Regions from separate parts of the Homo sapiens genome. Here all the other regions are linked to region 1. Evidence: promoter capture Hi-C in 16 types of primary human blood cells and fetal thymus (Javierre and others, 2016). All regions are on one chromosome and are shown on one strand. Each heading gives the region's core, a stretch centred on a gene start or on the middle of the fragment in contact. The rest is flanking DNA. Distances are from core to core; before and after follow the strand shown. Region 1 holds the start of PLCH1-AS2 (PLCH1 antisense RNA 2). Region 2 overlaps PLCH1 (phospholipase C eta 1). Region 3 overlaps PLCH1 (phospholipase C eta 1).

Region 1 (3,659 bases), core at 639-3,138:
AGAACTTGTTCAACTTGTTATTAAATAGTTTCCAAACTAAAAATATTCATCATAAAAATTTTGAAAACCTCAAAAAATTATAAAGAAAAAATTAAATACCATATGATGTTACCACTGAGACAGCCACTGTAAGATTTTGCAGAGGAACAGAATAATATATAGAATTTTGTAGTCTGCTTTTTCTGTACTTAATGCAACATAACTATGTATTGTTTTATATTTACCGAAACTTTAATACACATGACTAATTTATATAACTGTTTTTTAAAAGTAGACAAGAAACATTACCTCAAAATTGCTTTCTAACTCACCTTAATGGTATTAACATCTTAACTGTGGCATTAACAGATAGAACCAATTTCTACTGAATATAGCTTTATTTTTCCCAAAGATGGGGTTTTAAAATACATTTTAAGGCACATGTTTTATCTCTTCTCTGACACTGCTCTTAGCAAAATTTCAAGCTTTTAAATGTTCTTTTTCTCCTTCAAATAAACCACTGAAGAATATCTTGTAACAAAAATCAATACAAGTAAAATGGTGTTTGTGGGAAAAGAGAGCACTGAAATTAGACCATTTGATAAAAGTTAAAAGAATAATTTTGCTAAAGGAAATCAGTACCACATTTTACTTGTCTGAGATGATTCTGATTTAATTAAAACATATTTGTTGCAGAGATATCAAATGCACACAGTTTTGGCGCTTAAATTTACCCCCAGATAGGATGGGTTGGGAGTCACCAACATCAGTCAAAAATTCTCTGGCACACTGCAAGGCGGTCTTCACTCTTTATTGAGCTCCTGATATGAGTCAATGATACACTCAAATTAAGGAAAAAGACAGGCAGCACCTGGTCCCTATGCTTGTGGAGCCCACAACCGTGCTGAAGCTGCAGGCACACCTCTATCTCTGTCAGCATCCAAGGATCAGGGAAGTGAGGCCACAGGAAAACACTGCCTGAGCCACATCTTGAGAAAAAAGATTTGCCTGTTTTTGAAAAAGGTGGCTCGTTTTTAACATCTGGCTTTCTTTCTCCATAAACATTTCCAATCATGGAAATGTGTTATATGGTAAGAAAAGTAATACAACTATATTCACCCTCAAAACAAATCAGTAAATATGGCACTCATTTGGAAAATCAATATTTCAAATCCTATTTTGCAGGTTTCATCTTCCTCTCTGTGCCATCACACCTAATGGCTCCCCTATCCCTCACTGTCAATTTCAGATGTTGATATTATGAAGCTCTTGGTGAGGAGGAAATGGATCTACCTGGCCCCCAAAGTTTAAAATCTTCTGGTCTGGAAGATCACATTACAAAGTATTTATTTTTCAGTATATTTTACTTTGACTACAGAATGTCAGCCACTTCATAATGGTAAACAGGGACTGACATGCAGCCTAGAAGGGTTTATTCTCAGAGAAACTTAAAGCATCTTACCTAGAGAGTTTTCTTTTCCTTCAATGTCTTTTGCTGTTTCAGATACAGGCAGCGACAAAGCTCCCAGAAGGTTTCTGTCAACAGGCATAGAGACAGGGCGTGCTTGCAAACTGCGTGTGGTCCTCCTCAGCACGCCATCTTGATCTCTTGTGGCCTCGGACACAGAATCCTTTATCTCCACCATTTCTTGGAAGCCCATTTTGCTCTTTTTCCTGCCTTTGGCTGGGGCGCTAGCTGTGCGTCGCAGAATTCTATCTCCAATGGATCGCTTCCGTACATAATGGGAATTGTTTTCTGAAGAACTGTGCCTAGGATTCTTATTGAACAGTCCCTTCAGACCCTGGAGTTGTCTGTTCTGAAGACACAAAAGAACCAACCACAAGTTAAGCAAATGCCATCACATCAACAACTTGCCTTGAAAATGACAGCTCCATGAAAAATGAATATAAACCAAAATCGTACAGCCATTGAAATATATTCAAACCAAGAAAGCAGCAGCTCACAGCATGTTTGCACAACTTCATGCACATCTTATCAACCTTACTTTGCAAGGACTTCAGCCTTCCATTCTTACATCAAGCTTTCCCAGAAGTTTCCTACCCAGAGATGACAAAGTGGTAGGAAAAGTCTCCACAGCTCATAGACTGCTATGAACTTCAGGCGCCTTAAAGCAACAGATGCATGTTTCAAAGTGGTAAGCAGGAAGATGGAGTGATATGAAAAAGCATGCTGCCATAACCACTTAAAAAGAAATATGCCAGCCAGAACAAAGCACCATGCTGAGAAACTACCTTTGTAGCTCCTAGAAAGTGCAATATAGTATAACTGGGGTTGAGTATTAAAGGGCTCCACTGTAAAGGAAAAAAACAAAACACAACAAAACACAATTGGGGCTCATTGAAGAGGGTGTCACAAGTAAACACAAAAGAAAAAATGCATACATGTCTATAAACCCTTTCTCTTAGTTTTGGGGATTTTTAGTCTTATGCTCATTCATTGTTCAACCAATATCCACTACACTGTGATGTGTGGATCCCAACCCGAACACATCTTGAAAGGAATAAAGAGTATGACTCATAAATGGACATTTATTTAGCAGAGAAGATGGAGGTGATATAGAACACTTTCAGATTTTAATTTATTTCTGGCTCAAGTTTGTTTTTTTTTTTTTTTTTTTTTTGAGACGGAGTCTCGCTCTGTCGCCCAGGCCGGACTGCGGACTGCAGTGGCGCAATCTCGGCTCACTGCAAGCTCCGCTTCCCGGGTTCACGCCATTCTCCTGCCTCAGCCTCCCGAGTAGCTGGGACTACAGGCGCCGGCCACCGCGCCCGGCTAATTTTTTGTATTTTTAGTAGAGACGGGGTTTCACCTTGTTAGCCAGGATGGTCTCGATCTCCTGACCTCATGATCCACCCGCCTCGGCCTCCCAAAGTGCTGGGATTACAGGCGTGAGCCACCGCGCCTGGCCCTGGCTCAAGTTTTAAACAAATTCAGAATGTAATTGTTTCCCTCAATGTGATAAATGCTAGAGATAATCTGTAGTTAACCTGGGATTCCTAGAATTCAAGAATCATTTTTGAATTATTTACATTTGTGTCTACTTAGATGAGAGGCAAGACCCCAACAAGCAGCACAAACAGAAATCCAGGACTAAACACAGGAAGTTATGGTATAAAACTTCACGAGTCTTAGAAATTAGGATCCTTACCCCCACCTCCACGCCCTTGCTGACAGATATGAAAATAAACTTTACACTCCCTAATTCATGCTGAAATGGTCCATTCCTTATTAGTTAGGTTGTAGTCATAATAACATTAATATTAGCCAACATTTCTGAGCATTTACTGCGTACCAGGCAGCTTTCTAAGGATAAGATATATATTTATTTATGAGATAGGTATTATTTTTATCCCACATTCACAGATGAGGAAGCTTCCAGCTATACAGATTTTCTGGCAAAGAGCACGGGACATTTCTAGGCCCCATTCAATGCTTTAACAGTCCCTCCAAATCCCGTGTGGTCCTGAAAATTCATACTGGTAACCAAGTCCCCAATTACTTGACATGACCAGAGGACAACCTATTGATTTGTAAACCTCAAATGAGTTCTATAACCAAGACAACAGCATCAGGAAAGAACTAGAATGCATTTACATGGTCGCCTTTTCAGTCCTATAGGTAGCTTTAAAATCCATTCACAATTTTTAGATTTTCAGTT
Region 2 (3,659 bases), core at 562-3,061, 230 kb after region 1:
TCTTAAGCCTTGCTGAGAGATAAAAGGCAAAATTAATAAGCTCTGACAGTAATATTCATAAAACAACAAGCACTTAGGAACAGGAAGGCATAGAAAAACAGGTCTCAAAACTATATCCTGTACTTCGGCCTCTGACATAACGTATGTTTGGGAATTTTGCACCCAGGTATCCCTAAAACTTGAGAATTGAAACTAAATCCAGTTAAAAACTAAGATTTCAAACAAAGTTGCTCCTTTCTCATTTCTCCATTAATTTTAAGACAAAGTAAGAGAATTACACAGGGCAGGGATGGGGTGGGAGGGGCCAGGGATCCTCTTCTCTGGCCCAGCCCCAAACTGACAGCTTCTAAAGCAGTTCAGAAGCCTGGGTCAGGTCCAGAGGGCTCCCATGTCACCCGCCACCCAGCAGATGGCCTTCCCCACCATCAGCCCCTCCCCTACTTCCCGCAGGTTTCTAAGCACCACCAAACTGGTTGTTAAAGGCCTCTGCAAACAGCCTAATTCCACAGCCTAGCCCCCTCCCAGCTATGTACACAAAGGGAAAGAAATAAAAGGGTACTTTGTTCATTTTTTAAGGCTCACAGGAGACACCACTAAATCCCAAGTTCCTGGTGTGTTTTCTTTTCTCTAATGCAATCAGGAGCTGAAAATGCTCTGAGCTAGTTAAGCAATGAGGCGCAATCGACCCTCCAAAGACACCCGGGATGCTGCATTTGAAAGGGCTGGTTTAGAGTATATAATATGTATCCAGAGCTTGAAGGAGTCCTCTTCTGTTTTTTATGCATTACTGGACTTGAATTGCTCATGTTTTATGATTTTTACATGTATGTTCCCAAGCAAGGCTGGCCTATAACTTCCATTTCTCATATTGCTCTCAAAAGGCTTTTATATCGAAGTTATCATAGCTTTACAAAATGAGTTTCTATTTCCTGGAAGAATTAGGTTGCTAGTAAAACCAGTTGAGCCTGAACTTTCCTTTAAGAAGAAATATTTGACTACTGGTTTATTTTATTTATAAATTACAGCATTATTCAGGCTTTCTATTTTTTCTAAGTCAGTTTTGGTAAGTTATATTTGTCTAGATATTTATTCATTTTCTCTAAGCTTTCAAATGTTTTAGCATGAAGTTGTTCATAATATTATTCATATAATTTTAATATCTACAACATCTATTCTCTGAATCCTGATATGGCTTATTTGTGCCTCTCTTATTTTTAAATCAATCTCACCAGGTATTTGTCAATATTGCTAGCTTTTACAGTAATCTCCATTGAATAACATGGAATTATTACTATCATTTCCTTCCATCTGCTTTCTTTTTTTTTGAGACAGAGTCTCACTCTGTCATCCAAGCTGGTGGGCAGTGTCACAATCACAGCTCACGGCAACCTCTGCCTCCCAGGGTCAAGCAATGATTGTCCCACCTCAGCCTCCCGAGTAGCTGGGACCACAGGCATGCGCCAACACACCCAACTAATTTTTGTATTTTTTGTAGAGACAGGATTTCGTCAGGTTGCCCAGCCTGGTCTGGAACTCCTGAGCTCAAGTGATCTGCCTGCCTCAGCCTCCCAAAGTGCTATGTTTATAGGAATGAGCCACCACATCTGGCCTCTTTTTTTTTTTTTTTTTTTTTTAAGAGACAGAGTAACACTCTGTTGTCCAGGCTGGAGTGCAGTGGCATGATCATGGCTCACTGCAGCCTCAACCTCCTAGGATTAAGGGATCCTCATGCCTCAGCCTTCCAAGTAACTAGAACTACAGGTGTACACCACCATGCCCAGCTAATTTTTTGTGGAAACAGGGTCTCACTGTGTTGCCCAAGCTAGTCTAGAACTCCTGGCCTAAGCAATCCTCCCACCTCAGCTTCCCAAACTGCCAGGATTATAGGCCTGAGCCACTGCACTTAGCCTTCCATTTGTTTTCTTTGGGCCTATTTTGCATCTTTTTCTAACCTTCTAATTTCAACGTTTAACTGTTTTCAGGTTTTCATCTTTTTAAATATAAGTAATTAAGGTTAAGCATGTGTTAGCTACTTCCCCAACCCCCAAGTTTTGACTCATAGTATTTTTGTTATCATTCAGTTAAAAATATTTTCTGAATACTATTACAGCTTCTTTTTAAACCCAAGATTATTTTGAAACACATTTCTACAACTATTCATAGTAATCTTTTGGTTATAGTTTCTAGTTTAATTCCACTGTGGTCAGAGATTTAGTCTGTATGACACTAATCCTTTGATAATTACAACTTGCTTGATGACATAGTTTGAGGTCACTTTCCATAAATGTTCTAGTGTGTTTGAAAAGAATGTGTATTCTGAAGTTAGGAGGTGTGATCTTCATGTCTATCAGCTCAAACTTATTAGTTACTTCATTCAAATCTTGTGTGTTAGGCCATTCTTGCATTGGCATAAATACCTGAGACTGGCTAATTTATAAGAAAAGAGGTTTGATTAGCTCATGGTTCTGCAGGCTGTACAGGAAGTATGGCACCAGATCTGCTTCTGGGTAGGCCCCAGGAAGCTTTTACTAATGGTGGAAGATAAAGTGGGAGCAGGCATCTGACATGGCAGGAGCAGGAGCAAGAGAATACGATGGGGGGTGCCACACTTTGCAACAACCAGATCTCACAAGAACTCACTTACTATCGTGAGGACAGCACCAAGGCATGACAGCACCATGTCATCCTTCCCCATGACCCAAACACCTCCCACCAGGCCCCAACTCCAACACTGCAAATTACAAGTGAACATGAGATTTGGCCGGGACATGTATTCAAACTATATCATTCAGCCCTTGGCCCCCCAAATCTCATGTCCTCCTTATATTGCAAAATACAATAATGTCTTCCCAACAGTCTCCCAAAGTCTTAACTCATTCCAGCATGAACCTAGTCAAAAGTCCGAAGTCCAAGGTCTCATCTGGAAATGAGTTCCTTCCACCTATGAGCCTGTAAAACCAAAGCAAGTTCTCTACTTCCAAGTTACAGGGGTGGTACCAGCATTAAGAAAACATTCTTGTTCCAAAAGGCAGAAATTGACCAAAAGAAAGGGGCCACAGGCCCCATGCAAGCTCAAAACCCAGCAGGGCAGTCATCAAATCTTAAAGCTCCAAAGTAATTTCCTTTGACTCCATGACCCACATTCAGGGAACATTGGTGCAAGAAGTGGGCTCCCAAGACCTTGGGCAGCACTGCCTCTATGGCTTTGCAGTGTTCAGCCTCTGCAGCTGCTGTTACAGGTTGCTGGGAGCCTGTGGCTTTTCCTGGAGCAGTATACAAGCTGCCTGTGGCTTTACCATTCTGGGGTCTGGAAGACAGTTGGCCCCCTTCCCACAGTTCCACTAGGCAGTGCCCTGGTGGGGACAGTGTGTGGAAGCTCCATCCCCACATTTCCCTTCCATACTGCCCTAGTAGAGGTTCTCTGTGAGGGCTCTGTCCCTGCAGCAGGCTTCTGCCTGGGCATCCAGACTTTCTTGTAAATCCTGTGATATCTAGGGGGAGGCTACCAAGCCTCATTCACTCTTGCACTCTGCACACCTACAGGCTTAATTCCACATGGAAGCCACCAAAGCTTATGGCTTGAAATCTCTGAAGCAGCAGTCCAAGCTGTATCTGAGGCTCTTTGAGCAGAGGCTAATGCCGGAGCAGCCGGGATGCAG
Region 3 (3,659 bases), core at 643-3,142, 210 kb after region 1:
CCCTGAATCTACTCATGGAAAGATTTTTCATCCTCCCATCAATTTCTGTGCATACATTAGAAACAGAGTGGGAAAGACAATTGGGAAAATGAGAGAGCAGAGGAAAACTAATTGTAATTATGGAAATGCAGCTTCAAGAACAAAGGCTTAAATTTGTAACACAGGTCTAAGGGGAAATAATTCTCAGAAGTAACCACTTAAAACATGAAAGGTCTGCAAATCTGAAGGAAAAAATGACGGTTTATTATACACATTATTTCTTCTTTCTAATTAATTAGAAAATTACCAATTCCAATTGCCAATTAGAAAATTGGTATTCCCAAGCATAAAGGAATAAAACAATCAAGGGCCTTTCTGCCTGGCTGGACTCTCAATGGCCACAGGTTTATGAGAAAGAGTTGGAGAATCTCATGGAAAAAGCCATCCAAGGCTTTCACTTGGCAGCAATAGGCTTGTTTCAGAAAATTGAAAGCTAAAGCTTCAAAGAATGAACACTGTCACTTCTCATCCACCTGGGCTTCCCATACATCCAGATCTCCAATTTGCCATTTAAAGAGCACCTTTTCATCCCCTCCATCGTTGCAGAAGATAAATGACCTTGCATAGAAAGCATGACAGAGAGATCACAGTGGGTTCAGTTACTCAGAAAAATCCCTTCATTGAATTAGATTCCCGATGAGGAATAGAGGCTGATACACCTCAACATGGATTTTTATACATACAGATCATTGCTTGGGTCTGATCAATCCAGCTACATAATGCTGCAAAAAGCAAACAGAATAAAGAACACCAGTAGCTTTAGGGAAATTAAGTCGCCCTAATCTAAAATGTTAGTGAACAAGGACCTGCCTAGAGTGACTCTAGGAGTCCAAGGAGAGCTGTCAGTGGTTGGGGGGCCGGGATTCCATCCATCAAAATCACATTACCTGAGCCGCTGTTAGGCGTATAATATCGTCAATGCCCAGGGTGGCAGAGATGGCACTCTGAGGAGTGAAACTGGAGGAAACACCCCTCACCCCCAGAAAGAAGCAGGGGAAGAGCTACAAAAGAATGACTGAAGAGATTGCTTAAGTTGGTAACATAGGGGAGCAGCCCCTACAGTGTGAGAAGAGACTGTCATCAGCAGGTCTGAGAAGAGCAAGGGGCAACTTCACACCCCATTCCATCTTTCAAGTCCTTTCAGTCTGTAGAGCTCCACATGAAGAAATACGGAGAGAAGAGAAAGGGCAGGAGCCAGACAGTTGCCCCAGTGTCCTCAGGGGCACAGGAAGCTGTGCTCTAGCCAGAGGAAACTGACAGCAGAGAAGGCATGAGGCTGAAGCAAGATGGCAGGTCCTCTCAGGAGGGTCCTTGGTAACAGAGGGAGCCAGGATAAAACTGAGAATCTACAGAAGATGGAAGCAGAGGGAGTCTGGATCACCTCACCGCTGCTGACATACAACAGGGACATGTGAGACAAAAAGCCTTTGCTCTCTCTTCTTTGTACCAAAATCTGTGGAACAGGGCCTTGAATTCTCCTTCAAGGGGAAGGAGTATAGCAGAGACAAAGGAACTCCCACCCTCAACCACCAACAGCCAGGCCAGCGGGTAAGAGGGCTTAATGAATTTGAGATTAAAATTTTAAAATGGACTGGACACTTAATAGCCAAAATTAGCCAGAAAGTAATAGAACCTATCCAAGATGCTACAATGGGACAAAGTATTTTCTGAAGCATTCACTGAAGCATATATGCTACACTAAGTTGAGAATGCTCAATAAACCAGTTACAAATGGAATGCTCATCATAAAGACCAAAAAAATGAAAGAACTTTAGATTTTAAAATATAAATAAATAGCATTCACTGAGAGGCTTTCATTGAGAATTTTTTGTATCTCCAAGACATCAAAGAAGAGTATATGTTCCCAAAAGGTCATAGAACAAGTATATTTCATACCAGCTCACATTAAAGGTTTTTTCCTTTGTGTTCTAAACTAGACATAAATATCCTCTTTTGTAAGGCCTGAATGGATGGCTATGATTTCCCTCAGACAGGGGAAGAAGAAAAGGAGATAAATCAATGTGGTCAGTTAACTCACAGCAAATTCTCCAATTAGCCTGTGTTTAAAAGTAGGGTGAGTAGGGGAGGTAGACAATCTCGCATTTCTTAAAATTTTAGTGCTTAGAAACTTAGAGGTCATTTTCCATAAATGCCAGCATTTTGCTGATATGGAAAACTTAGTCCCAAAGAGAACAACTCACCCAGAGTAACTCAGCCAGTGGGAACCCCTACAAAGTGTCACACCTGGGTCAGGCCATGCTTCCCTCTGTCTAAATCTTCACCACCTGCAAGATACACCTGAACATCATAGGCCTGAAAGGATACCTGCCCTGATGCTTTCTGCTTTGGTGGCCATCAATGGGAGGTAGAGAGCCTTTTGGGTGGGGCCAATAAAAGAAATCTACCTGGCAACGCTGCTTCCAGAATTAGTTCTATTATAATTTATAAAACTTAAATGAATGAAATATATTTTCTCCCTTAAGGCCTATCTTCTTTTTTTTTTTTTTTAACTCTTCCTCTCAATTTGTCTTTGAAATTTTTCCCTGGTCCTCTCTAATAATTTAATGATAATATTTTTAATCTTTTATCTTTTTTTTTTTTGAGACAGTTTTGCTCTTGTTGCCCAGGCTGGAGTGCAGTGGCGCCATCTCGGCTCACTGCAACCTCCACCTCCCAGGTTCAAACGACTCTCTTGCCTCAGCCTCCCAAGTAGCTGGGATTACAGGCATCCACTCCCACACCCAGCTAATTTTTTGTATTTTTAATAGAGACAGGGTTTCGCCATGTTGGCCAGGCTGGTCTCAAACTCCTGACCTCAGGTGATCCACCTGCCTCGGCCTCCCAAAGTGCTGGGATTACAGGCGTGAACCACTGCGCCCAGCCTGATACTTTTAATCTTAATGATGTTCATGAAATCTTGATTGTCATTGCAATAATAGGAATTCTATGTGCACAGGTATTTTCTGGACCTAGAAAAGGAGACTTATAAAGTTATGGCTGGAAAAGCTAGGCTTTGATTCAGTAAAGAAATGCTACTCTAACATAAAATCTAGTGATGCCCCACAAACCTAAAGCAGGCAGGCTGCCAAAGTCTAATAAACTGGCTGAAATCAATTGGAACCCTAATTCACTTTTGCATAATTTCATTCTCCTTGCATATTTTCCAGTCAGGATCTGGAATTCTTCTCTTTTCTTCCAGTGCAGATGGAACTCCAGTGAGGGAGAGCTTTTCACTCTTCATTTTTGAATATAATCACATTTGTCCTGAAAGCTTGTGTGTCAGTCCTAGATATTGGTCTCTCCATGGTCAGGAGAAACCTGTGACCATTCACACACACACACACACACACACACACCACTACCTCTCTCCCCTAAAGGGAAATGCAGCATTTTGCCAGTGCAACACTAACTACAAAGTTTACAGTCCAAAAAGAAATCTTATCTTCTCTTCAATGCCATCTTGCCAGCCTTTCATTCTCATACCCCCGGCCTGAAGAACACTTCCATCTATCATACACCTATCTTGATGTTTGACTACACAGAGACCTCACACCTTGCTGCTATAAGGGAACTTTACAATCTGGCAAAATCCTCACCTGAAAGACAGGGAAACTGAGGGC

Evidence for each region. The method cuts DNA at HindIII sites, captures the fragments that hold promoters and counts their contacts. A CHiCAGO score of 5 or more calls a contact.
Region 2: a fragment that was not itself captured here is called in contact with the fragment with the promoter of PLCH1-AS2 in region 1 in 1 of 17 cell types (megakaryocytes); the score reaches 5.3 in megakaryocytes.
Region 3: a fragment that was not itself captured here is called in contact with the fragment with the promoter of PLCH1-AS2 in region 1 in 2 of 17 cell types (megakaryocytes and fetal thymus); the score reaches 6.4 in megakaryocytes.

The regions. Positions count from the first base shown.
Region 1 is chr3:155,483,915-155,487,573 of GRCh38, forward strand. It overlaps PLCH1-AS2 (PLCH1 antisense RNA 2), which reads left to right and starts at 1,889. Exons shown (of 2, transcript NR_146955.1): 1 at 1,889-2,135; 2 at 3,047-3,207. PLCH1 (phospholipase C eta 1) reads right to left here. Exons shown (of 23, transcript NM_014996.4): 22 at 1,442-1,796. The HindIII fragment of the contact is 1,557 bases long and covers 463-2,019 here.
Region 2 is chr3:155,713,995-155,717,653 of GRCh38, forward strand. All of the region lies in intron 1 of PLCH1 (phospholipase C eta 1), which reads right to left. Among named protein-coding and RNA genes, the nearest start is that of PLCH1, 29 kb to the right of the region's middle. The HindIII fragment of the contact is 1,418 bases long and covers 1,103-2,520 here.
Region 3 is chr3:155,696,455-155,700,113 of GRCh38, forward strand. All of the region lies in intron 2 of PLCH1 (phospholipase C eta 1), which reads right to left. Among named protein-coding and RNA genes, the nearest start is that of PLCH1, 47 kb to the right of the region's middle. The HindIII fragment of the contact is 2,832 bases long and covers 477-3,308 here.